Regions from separate parts of the Homo sapiens genome. Here regions 1 and 3 are each linked to region 2. The links are contacts of gene promoters, found by promoter capture Hi-C in human tissues and cell types (Jung and others, 2019). All regions are on one chromosome and are shown on one strand. Each heading gives the region's core, a stretch centred on a gene start or on the middle of the fragment in contact. The rest is flanking DNA. Distances are from core to core; before and after follow the strand shown.

Region 1 (3,558 bases), core at 161-2,660, 340 kb after region 2:
CCAGCAAGCCCTGCCATCCTCTCTCTATCTCAGGCTGGCCAGGAGAGCAGCTGGGAGGGAACCCTGGGGAGTGAAGTAGGGGAGACCTGGGGTGGGGGTGGAGATGCCTTTGGGAGCCAAAAGCAAACACCCTCCCTGAATATTTCCCCAGAAGACATCCTCTTGTGGCCTCCCCAGGAGATGGCAGCTCCCAGCTCTCCAAAGTCCCAGGGAAGGGCTTCTCCCCTGCCTGGGTCCCAGAGGCCCTTCCATACCTATACCACAAATCATTTCACCTAAACATCCTGGAACAGACAGGTTTCCACCTTGAGGGAGCTTCTGAAGACAGCCCTGGGGGCATCCGTCCACTGCAGCCTGGCCCAAGCAGCCCTGCCCAGCCTCAGCATTTCTTGCCCAGAGCACAGCTGTGTGTATAAGGGTGGACATCCGGCCTCCTCCATCAGACTGGAGGTTCCCAGTGTGTTTGGGGGACCTAAGAGAAGATTGGCCATGCATTCTGCTCCTGTTCATTTGTTCATTAATTCTACAAATACTCATGCAAGCCCACCTTGTACCTGGTCCTGGGTTCAAAGCCACAGGGCATCATCCCTACCAGGAAGGGCTCTCCACACCCTCTTTTCCCTTCAGTCCAATCCCTTTCTCTCACTGCTGGGCTCCAGGGCTGAACCTGCCCTGGCGTGCCTCACTCCTCAGCAGGAGAGTAAGGATGCATGCTTGCAAAAATGGTTATAAAATCCAGCCAGACCATTTCAGGTTTTTTTAAAAAGTGGGAAAAAAGCCCCACAAACAACCAAAATGTACTAAAGGGGGCACTCAGAGAGGAAAAAGCATTGGCATGGAGACTAGAATAACAACAAGATGATAATGACTTTTTTTTTTAGGACATCCTATGTACCAGTCACTTCATGAGGTACTTTTACATGTCAATGTCACTTCAGGCCCTCAAACTCCATCATGTAGGTGTTACTGTGCCCATTTTAGATGAGAAAGTTGAGGTGCAGGCAAGTAATTTCTCCAGTGGCAGACCCAGGATTCCAATCTAGATCTGTCAGAAGTCTTGATGGGACTTAGGGCGGCCCAGATTAGGCTCTGCAGAGGCATCCAAAGAGAGGTCCCTATGGCCGGGCCTCACAGGGCATCACCTCCTCAGAAGCTTCCAGCCCCAGGACAGCTGGATGAGCTACAGACAGGGAGTAGGGGAACAGTCTTCCTGCAGGAAGTCTGAGGAGCTGATGAACAGGGTTCTCAGGCCTCTCCAGGAGAGGAGACAGGAGAAGCCCAGGAAAGGGACATGTGCTAGCATCTGCTCCACTTGGAGCCAGACCCAGGGACCGTCAGGGGATGTGTGGAGAAAATCAGGGCCCAGGCTGGTGAGCCACGCATGGCTGATGACAAACACAAGAGAAGCCCTGTGAGCATTGTGAATGCGCACCGAGAGTGGAGGGAAGGATGGGGTACCAGCATCCGGTGACTCCGAACAGTGCAACAGCCAAATGGTGGCAGGGTGGTGCCTTCCCGAAACTAGTATCCAAAGAAATGTCTGATGGCAGAAGCTCTGTCTCCTCCCTCAGATTAGATACTCTGTAAGGACCGGGAGCATCCTGAGGGCCAGGGCCATGTCAATCCTCCTTGAGACTGGGAGCTCCCTGGGAGCAGTACTTGCACTTCCCTCATAGAGAGACTAACTCCCCAAAGGCAAACGCAGCCTTTGAAAATCTTTGTCAGATCCCGGCCCCCTCTTGTCCTGGGAGACTCAAGCCCAGCCTTGCACCATAGGCACCTGTGCCTAGTGGGCCCTTTCCTCTGACTCACTGCTCCCTGGGTTCTAGCTCTTCCCCTTCCACGTCACCCCTTCTGTTCCTTCTCAGCAGATGCTCAGTCAAGCCCTGTCTTTGCCTTGCATTTTCCTTTTCTAGGCAGATTATAAATATTTACTGATTCCTTCCCTGCCCTCCCCTAGTCCCATGTCCTAATGGACAATGTCCTGCGGATGTAGCTGAATTATCTCTCTCCCAGCAACTCTGAAGCCAACCTGATGGAGCCTTCCAAGGGTCAGCCCATCCATCCCCCACCTCTAGGCTGGCTCATGCTAAAGCCCCTCCTAGTAAATGAGAGACCATCCCTGCACCAGGGCATAGTACATATGGCTGGTATTCCATAAACGCTGGAGGATGGAAGGAAGAAGGGAAGAAAAGGATTCCACAGTCTTTTCCTCCAAATCCCTCATGCTGTGCTCTCTGGCAGTTCTTCTCATCCTCTATCCTCTATCCCCCATGCTGTAGGTGAGGCCCACTTTCTCTTGGTAAGACTCCAGTACAACCAAGTCACTCTCCTCACTCTAGAAATTAGGACAATATTTTGTCCTGCCTGGGTCAGCCCTTACCCTGACTTCTCACCAAACTTACCACCATGGCAGATGCCTGGTCTCTGATTCCCTTATAAACACACCCTTCTTTCCTTGAACATCCCTCCATCCACTTCATGAATACCAGTTAAACCTTATGGATGGGAAGGGACAAACACCCTAATGCCAAGGAAATGACTGTTTTGTTAGATGGCTCAGTTATTATTGAGGAATAATAACCACCCCAAAACTTAGTAGCTTTAAACAACACAGTGCATACATTTGCTTACAACTCACTAAACTGGGGCAGGGATGGCTTCTCTCTACTTTATGTGTTGTTGGCTAGAGTGGCTCACCTGGCGCTAGGGAATCCAAAGTGACTTCACTCACATGTCTGGTGCCTCAGCTTCAGGTGGTTGGAACAGCTGGGAGTTGGCTGAGCCTCTCTCTCTCTCTCCATCTCTGTCTCTCTCTTCCTCTATCTCTCTGTTTCTCTTCCCCTATCTCTCTCTGTCTCTCCACAGTCTCTCTCTCCAGTAGAGTATTTGGACAGTTATAGCCTGGCAGCTGCCTTACAAGAGGACAAAAATTGACACTACAATGCCTAGACCTGAAAGTCCCAGAATATCTCTCTTGTGTTGCATTTTTATTCAAAGCAAGTCATAAAGCCGGCCCAGATTCAAAAAGAGGAAAAATAGACTCTACTTCTTGGGGGGCAAAGCACGTGGGCACAGGGATGGAAAGAACTGTTGACAGCCATGTTTGCACACTGGCCACCACAATGATCCTAACACACGAAATTGATCCAGAATCACCAAGTTTTGTATGGATCCACCCGTCAGCCTTTCAGTTCTTGTGGGAGGGAGGAGAGTGGGCCAGCAGGCTCTCTAAAGGCCTTTCAGGGCCGGGAGCAGGATGGGCAGCTCCTTGGAGAAGGGAGAGTCTCAGGCTAGACAGAGGAGAAGGAGCACTGGGTAGCTCCAGAGGAAACAGTGGCTAGACCAGGCGGTGTGAGTCCCACAGAGAGGAGATGATCTGGGAAGGCAGGGTAGGCCCTGGGACTTGCTTAGGTCTGGAGAGATCCTTGGGAATGGCTCCAGGGGGGTATCTGGGCAGGTCTTATACAACTGGGGGAGGTGGCATTTTCATGTTCTCCTTCTTTTCTCCGTGGTCTGTTTCAAGGCTGTTTCTCTCATCTAAGGCCGTGTGTTGCA
Region 2 (3,809 bases), core at 1,056-3,555:
GTTTAGAGAAAGAAAATTGGTAAAAACAAAAATAAGATAAAAACACAGAATGTAACATGATAGAAATATAACAGAGCCCCTCAGTCAGGTTGGGCTTCTTATTTAGACCTAAGGGTTTACACTGTGTTAGGGACTCTGCCACTGAGTGACAGGGAATATTCTCACTCTTTGAACATACCCCATCCATCTGTGGTAGCCTGGGAGGTGGAGGCATGGGAGAGTTATGGGTCAGAAGTTCAGAGATGATAACCCATTATTGATCAATTACCAGGAAGGATGCCAAGCTCTTTACTTCTGTTACCTTGTTTGATTCCCATGATAAAACTTGTAAGGAGGTGGTAGTAACCACACTTTTTTTCTTTTTCTTTTCTTTCTTTTTTTTTTTTTTTTTGAGACAGTCTTGCTCTGTCACCCAGGCTGGAGTGAAGTGCCACAATCTCGGCTCACTGCAACCTCCGCCTCCCAGGTTTAAGCCATTCTCCTGCCTCAGCCTCCTGAGTAGCTGGGATTACAGGTGTGTGCCACCATGCCCGGCTAATTTTTGTATTTTTAGTAGCGATGGGGTTTCACCATGTTGGCCAGGCTGGTCTCGAACTCCTGACCTCAAGTGATCTGTCCGCCTCAGTCTCCCAAAGTGCTGGAATTATAGGCATAAACACTTTTTAATGAAAACTGAGGTTCAGACAGGTTAAGTAACTTGTCAAGGTCACACAGCTGAAGAATAGTAGAGCTAGAATTTGAACGCAGGTCTCTAAGACTCTGCTATACTTGGAGAGAACTTGAATGATGTCCAAGGGGGTTCTTAGTTACCCACTGCCTGCCTTCTGCCTTGCCATGTCCCCATCCACCCACAGGCCAAGACTGCACTGAGTGAGCCAACAGCAGGCCCCAGCATGTGCCACCTGGGGCATGCCAAGGCCTGGACCCTCTGGTGCCCTGGAGGACAATCACGCTGCCAGCACACCCCCACTTGAAGCCTGGCTGACACTCCCACTCCCCACCTCACCCTGGCCTGGGAGGCAGGATGGGCCCCTCTTCAGCAGGTGTTGGGCACAGCCTCATTGCTCCCCGGCTGCTGCAGACTGGTAATGGGTAGGCAAGCCCCAGCCCCCCAGGGCGGTGGAGTGCTCAGGCTTGCCCCGAGCGGCCAGACCTCTGCCCAGGGGACCCAGGCAGGGGGCAGCACAGCGCCCCAAGGGCAGCCAGCCCCTCTGACCTCTCCTCCCCACTTCCCAAGCGTCCTTTCCTTTTCTGGGGAACAAGGTGCCAAGCTTTGGGACTGTCCGCCTTAGGCGGTCAAGACAGCCAGGAGGGACAAAGCGGCGCCCCCTCCCCACAACAGGGCCTTTGCCCCACTCTCGGTTTCGCGTCTGAATCTTTTCCCCACCGCACCCTCCAACGCAGGCCCGGGCGGCTCATGAATGAACTGCACTGTGTGGGGCGCAAGGAGAGGACACGCTCCCGGGGCCGGCCGCCTCTCCAGCCCGCCGACCAGTCAGTCCCCAGAGCCGGGGGCAGCGGCCGGCCTCGTGCCAGCACCTGCGAACCCTGCCCTTGCCCGAGCCCGAGCCCTTACCCCGGACCGGCTTCGGGTGTACTCGCCCCCGGGAGCAGCAGAAAAAATAAAAGGCACAGAAGGCATCGGACTTGGCGACCCCGGGGTCCAAAACTCGGGGGCGGGGGCGGCTAGTTCCCCAAACGGCGGCGGACAGGCGGGGCGCAGCTGGCACCCCCGAGGGTCGCGCAGGGGACGCGCACCTGCACCGGGCAGGTGGGAGAAGAGTGGCACTCGGGGGCCGGGGGCGGGGGTCCCACCCTTTGGGATCTCCCCGGGGCTGGGGAGAGCCGGCGGCGCGTATCTGGACCTCCGGCAGGGGTTGGAGGACTCACATTTGGCTCGGGATGGTGCGGGGTTGGGGGCAGCGCGCGCCACCCCTGGGTCCCGCGGGCCCGGGCACCTCTGGGTCCCGCAGGAGGTTGAAGGGAGGGGACGCGCAGCTGAGTCCAGGTTTTTTCTTTGGGTGGTGGTGGGATCTTCGAAGAAAAGAGCGAGGGCTGGGTAGGGGTCGCGTACTCACCCCCAGGCGCAGACTCGGCTCCGGCTCGGAGCCCCGGGTTGGGGCGGGGCGGGGCTGGGGGAGGGGGAGGGGGAGTCGCTGGGCGGCTCGAGCTCCGGGCTCCTGCGGCGGCCGCGGCAGTGTATGGGGGAGGGGGAGCGGGGGGAGGGAGGGGGAGGGGGCGGAGCCCCGCAGGTCCCGCCCCGCACGCCGGCGCACGCAAGGTGCGCGCGCACTCTCAGATCGCGTCCGCCGGGCTGGGCCTGGCGCGCAGGCGCTAGGAAGAGGCCGCGTGGGGCGAAGGCGGCGCTTGGCTGGTGGGGCCCGCGGCGGGATTTTCCCGGGCGGCGAGAGCGGTATGGTGGGGGGCAGGGGTGGGCGTTAAGTCCTCATTCCCTCCTTCTCCTCTTCCTTTCTCTGCAGTAGGGGAGGCCCACTCCCCGGGGTGAGTGAGGAGAGGCCAGAGTGGGAGGCAGAGCGTCAGTGGGAGGGGTCCCGACGGGGAGGGGGGGGTCCCGACGGGGAGGGGGGTCCCGACGGGGAGGGGAGGCCCCTTACCCGGATCCTCCTCCCTTCCGCTCTCCGTGGGCTGCTTCTGCGACCCCCAAGTCCGTGGCCGGCGCTCACCTGCTTTCCCCGGGTTGCGGCGTCGACTTGGGGAGGGCGGGCTGCGTTCAGCCGTCGCTGGTCACTCCGGAGCGTCTCCTCCGGCTTCTCCGCTTTCCGCGCTCCCCTCCCCTTTCCCAACTTAGGTCTGGAGATGAGTTAGCCAGACGCCTCTGTGGTGTGAGGATTGAGTTTTTGCTTTCACTCTGTCAACGCTGATGAGTGCGCCCTCCCCCAGGCCAGGGGGTTCCCTGGTTTCTTATTTCACCAGAGACTGCATCTACCAGTGATTAAGACTGGAAAGATGAAGGGAGAGACTGAGACTCTTTCTATATATCACCCACACAAATAGATCATAAAGGCACAACGGGCACCAACCTGGTCATTTAATTTCTGGTTCCTGGAGGGGACAAAAAGGAAGTATTGCTTTCCACAGCCGACGATAAATGAACTTTGCCACCGTAAGAGACGGACGGGACTGAATTTATAAAGAGGTTAAAAGGGCATATGACAGACACCTCAGGCTACTTGGGAAACTCTGGGAGTTTGGGAGATAATTAACTCTCAGGGCTGGTGGTGGTGGGGAACTGCCACTGCTGAACAGAAGGACACTGCCCACCTGGGGGGTTTGGATCTTGTAGTTGGTCAGCGTCTCTGCTGTATGCTGGATTTTCAAGAGTTCATTAGTAGCTTGTGGAATGCAACTGTAAGGTTTGATTTATTGCAGTGTTTTTCAAACTGAATCCTATTGGTGAGTTGGAAATCAGTTTAGTAGATCACGGCCACTTGAAATAGAAAATATCAGAGGGTGTTGCACTTAGGGTATTGTTTCTTGACACTTCAGGTGTACACACACGTGTGAGTGTACTAGGAGGTGTTCTACAGTGTGTTTCTGTAGGTCGCAGTGAGAAAAATTTGAAAAGCGTTGTCTCCTGTGCCCTTCTATTTGCCCTCTTGCCTTTCTTTGCCTGAGTTTTCAGTCACTTAAAATTGTCTGAGGATGCAGTTAGCATGCCAGGAATATACAGTAAAGAACAAGGTGGATCTTCTTCACGGAGGTTACTGTGTGAGACGAAAGACAGTTCACTGTTCATCACTGGAAATACTGTACGTGCTACTGAAAAACAAGGATTTTATTGAGGTAAG
Region 3 (3,679 bases), core at 179-2,678, 290 kb after region 2:
GCAAGGTCAGAGGAGAGGAAAGAGGCATTGGAGCCTTTGATGCAGGATAGCCCACAGAGCCCGCAAAAGTCCTAGAAAGTTTGGCTGCCACCCTAAATCAGAATGAATCACAAAGGATCATTCCAGCCCGGTCCTGCATGAGATCAGGGGTGAGCAAGCTGCGGGTGAACAGAAGTTAAGAATTGGTGAGACACATCAGGCCTGCTCTCCTGCTCAAAGCTGCCGCCTTCAAACAGTCCTCTCTGCCTTGTTATAGTTGTCTAAAAAGGCTTTACTAAAAATCCACTAAAATTAACTCAGTAGGAACTCTTTTTGTAAAAAGAATACTCATCCTTTTGATATATTTTGTGTTGGTGAGGTTTCCATTTTCAGATGACAGGGCCTCTTAATACAGAGTCTACCTTTTTTTTTTTTTTTTTTTTAATAATCAACTTCAATTTTCCACGAAGGGAAGGCAGGGAGGTTGGTTTACAGGTTATCCATAGCAGGAAGTCTAATTCCAGGTAGAGCAGTCAGGCTTTCCATGATTACAGCAAATTGAGTACTGGCATTGTCTGTGTGCCTTTGTAGGAGTGAGAAAATGTTAAAAATGTGATTAGAAATTGCAAACCCCTGGCTCAGGAATGAAATGGTGAAAAACAAGCACAACCTAAAGCATTATCAGATTTAACCAATAGTTTTAATATGCTAACAGGCCCCAGAAGAGACTGCCACCAACAACGTATAAACTTGTGAGCACCGTAATATTGAATCAACATATTGTTGTATCTTTTTTTTTTTTGGTCAGGGATGGGGTGGGGATGGAGCTTCACTCTTGTTGCCCAGGCTGGAGTACAATGGCGTGATCTCGGCTCACCGCCACCTCCACCTCCCAGGTTCAAGCGATTTTCCTGCCTCCACCTCCCAAGTAGCTGGAATTACAGGCATGCACCACCACGCCTGGCTAATTTTTGTATTTTTAGTAGAGATGGGGTTTCTCCATGTTAGCCAGGGTGGTCTCGAACTCCCAACTTCAGGTGATCCACCTGCCTCGGCCTCCCAAGGTGCTGGGATTACAAGCGTGAGCCACCGCACCCTGCCTGAATCAACATATTGAAGGAATATGCAGCTGACCTTAGCAGAGACTTTCAGGAGCCTTTTGCTGGCTGTAGACCAGTCTAGACCATATGGTGGGCTGGCTTCTCCCAACAAACTCCTTGACAGACTCAGGCAGGTATAGGGGAGAGGGGCTTGAAGGCCAAATGATCCCCCAAGAAACTCCATAACAGACTTCTCTGCCCAAACAAATTTGAGAAATGATATGTTCAAATGAAACACACACTCTGTTGGTGAGGCTGAGGAAACAGGCTCAAACTCAGCTGGTGGCCCAGTGACTGGGACCACCCCTTAAGGGGGACAACCTGATGATATCTTTCAAAATTAAAAATGCACACGGTCTTTGACCCAGCAATTCTACTCCCTGGAATTTTTCCTGTTGATGCACTCCCACAAGGAGCAAATGACGTGTGGGGAAGGCTATTTGTTTGCAGCATTGTTTATAATAATAAAAGTCTGGAAACAGCCCAGCTCTCTCAAAAAGGGTCTGGCAAAATAACCTCAGGAGGAGCAGCGAACACTTATTGAGTGCTTACTGCACACCAGGCACTGTCCTAAGCCATTTACAAGCTTTATCTTATTGAATCTCCACAAAATGCTTCAAGGTAGATGATGCTGTTATCTTTGGATCACAAATGAGGAAACTGAGTCACTCAGACATTGAGTAACTGGCTCAACATTAAACAACTGGCTTGAACGAGAGCATTCTGCCTCCAAAGACTATGCTCTTAACCACCTTATTATACAATCTCTTCCAAATAAACATTTGAAACATCTGTTTGGTAGAATAAACTGGAGTGAAGAAAAAGAATGAGCCAGCTATCTGTGCACTCACACCAAATGGTCTCCAGATTATTGTTAAGTGAGAGAAAAAAGTTGCAGAACGGTGTGGAGAAAAGTCATCATTCATGTGGGAGGAAAACAGTTTATAAATGTATATGTTTTAGACTACCTTTAGAAGGATACACAGGAAACTGGTAACTCAGGGGCCTCCAAGAGAAGGACTGAGTAAGTGGCTAGAAGAAAGGTTAGAAGAGAGGCTTACACTTCTGTCTGAATTTGTTTTTAACTTCTTATTTATTTTACTTTTTTATTTTTTTAAGCATACAGAAAAGTTGCAAAAATAAGAACTGCTGATGTCCTTCACCTAGGTTCCCTAATTCTTATTGCGCTTGCATTTTTCACTGTGTCCATATAGTATCTCTTATTTATTTCATTTATTTATTTTTTGGAAATAAGGTCTCACTCTGTCGCCCAGGCTGGAGTGCAGTGGTGCGATCTCGGCTCACAGCAACCTCCGCCTCTCAGGTTCAAGCTATTCTCATGCCTCAGCCTCCCCAGTAGCTGGGATTACAGGCGCCTGCCAACACTCCCAGAAAATTTTTGTATTTTTAGTAGAGATGGGGTTTCACCATGTTGGCCAGGCTGGTCTCAAACTCCTGACCTCAAGCAGTCTGCCTGCTTCGGCCTCCCAAAGTGCTGGGATTATAGGTGTGAGCCTCCACGCCTGAACTAAAATTAATTATTTAAAAATAAGACAATGCTAAACAAGTATTTTCTACTTCATAAATTCTGGGAGATTGTTAAAATGCTAGCTGTTCAAATCTCTCAGAAGCAAGCCAATTGCATAGCATTTTCATGAAGTCTATCTTCAAACTCACCCACCTTCTGGAAGAGACGCCTCCCAACCCAGAAGGATGTGCCTGAGCCAAGGGTCTTAGAGAAGGGGCCCAAGGAAGCTTCCAGAACCATAAGTAAGGCCAGAGGCAGCTGTGCCTCGCTCAGGGGTGGGGTAGGGCAGAGACAGGGCTGAGGTGGCCCACAGGGCTCTTGCCTCCCAAGTGGGTTCTCTCTCCACCCAGCTGCCAGTGAGGACCACAGCAGAGAGGAAAGAAACAGATGCATGCCAAGTGTCCGAACAATGCCAGCAAGCCCTCCCAGTCCTGCTGAGTCTCTTTTATTACCTGCCCAGGCCCTGGTGCCATGGGGCTTAGTGTCTGAGATGGACTGAGGCCTCTCATCCTGTGAACCAGGTGCTGGGGAAAAACCCAGGTATACACACATGGAGGACAGGGGACAGGTCCCCTGCCATCATTAAAGGCATTGCCTCCCCTGAGCACTAGCAGCCACTCAATCCCAGTGCCAGTCACTTGCCCCGTTCCCAGCACAGCCCCTGGGGCCCTGCTGTCCTAAAATCATCTGCTCTGGCTTTTCTGGCGCTTTGCAGGGTTCATCAGGTCTGTTCCACTCGTGTGTTTTTCCTTCCTGCTCCCGCCCTCATCAGGGATCTCTGGGGTTCCCTGAGGGCAGGGCTATGTCTCCCCCTCAGACTGGGGCTCCTCAAGTCAGGAACCTTAGAGAACAAGCGACTGGGCACTGTCCCCTCCTCCCACCCTCCCTTTTGGTTCCAAGGCCAGGTGTTTGAGCAGGCCGTCATTTCACACATCCCAAGTCTGGGCACATGCACCGCCCAAAGCCCCTTGCCTCCCTGAAGGGGAGGCTGAAGGCCAGCCGCTGACACCAGTGGACCCACGGCGGGATCATTGCATAACAGCAGCCTGGCCACAGGATGATTCAGCACTGA

Evidence for each region. The method cuts DNA at HindIII sites, captures the fragments that hold promoters and counts their contacts. A contact is called where the count stands out against the background at its distance.
Region 1: a contact is called between a fragment that was not itself captured here and the fragment with the promoter of MRPL14 in region 2, in 2 of the 25 tissues and cell types used here (lymphoblastoid cells and spleen).
Region 3: a fragment that was not itself captured here is called in contact with the fragment with the promoter of MRPL14 in region 2 in 2 of the 25 tissues and cell types used here (IMR-90 fibroblasts and mesendoderm cells).

Annotation. Positions count from the first base shown.
Region 1 is chr6:43,790,224-43,793,781 of GRCh38, reverse strand. No RefSeq gene overlaps it. Among named protein-coding and RNA genes, the nearest start is that of VEGFA, 22 kb to the right of the region's middle. The HindIII fragment of the contact is 5,264 bases long and covers 1-3,558 here.
Region 2 is chr6:44,125,948-44,129,756 of GRCh38, reverse strand. MRPL14 (mitochondrial ribosomal protein L14) reads left to right here and starts at 2,305. Exons shown (of 3, transcript NM_032111.4): 1 at 2,305-2,413. It overlaps TMEM63B (transmembrane protein 63B), which reads right to left and starts at 2,203. Exons shown (of 24, transcript NM_018426.3): 1 at 2,079-2,203. RefSeq lists silencers at 1,523-1,682, 1,863-1,972, 2,013-2,412, 2,433-2,482, 2,513-2,572. The HindIII fragment of the contact is 18,233 bases long and covers 1-3,809 here.
Region 3 is chr6:43,838,830-43,842,508 of GRCh38, reverse strand. The region is part of intron 1 of LOC105375070 (a long non-coding RNA gene); the gene reads right to left. Among named protein-coding and RNA genes, the nearest start is that of LINC02537, 12 kb to the left of the region's middle. The HindIII fragment of the contact is 4,197 bases long and covers 1-3,526 here.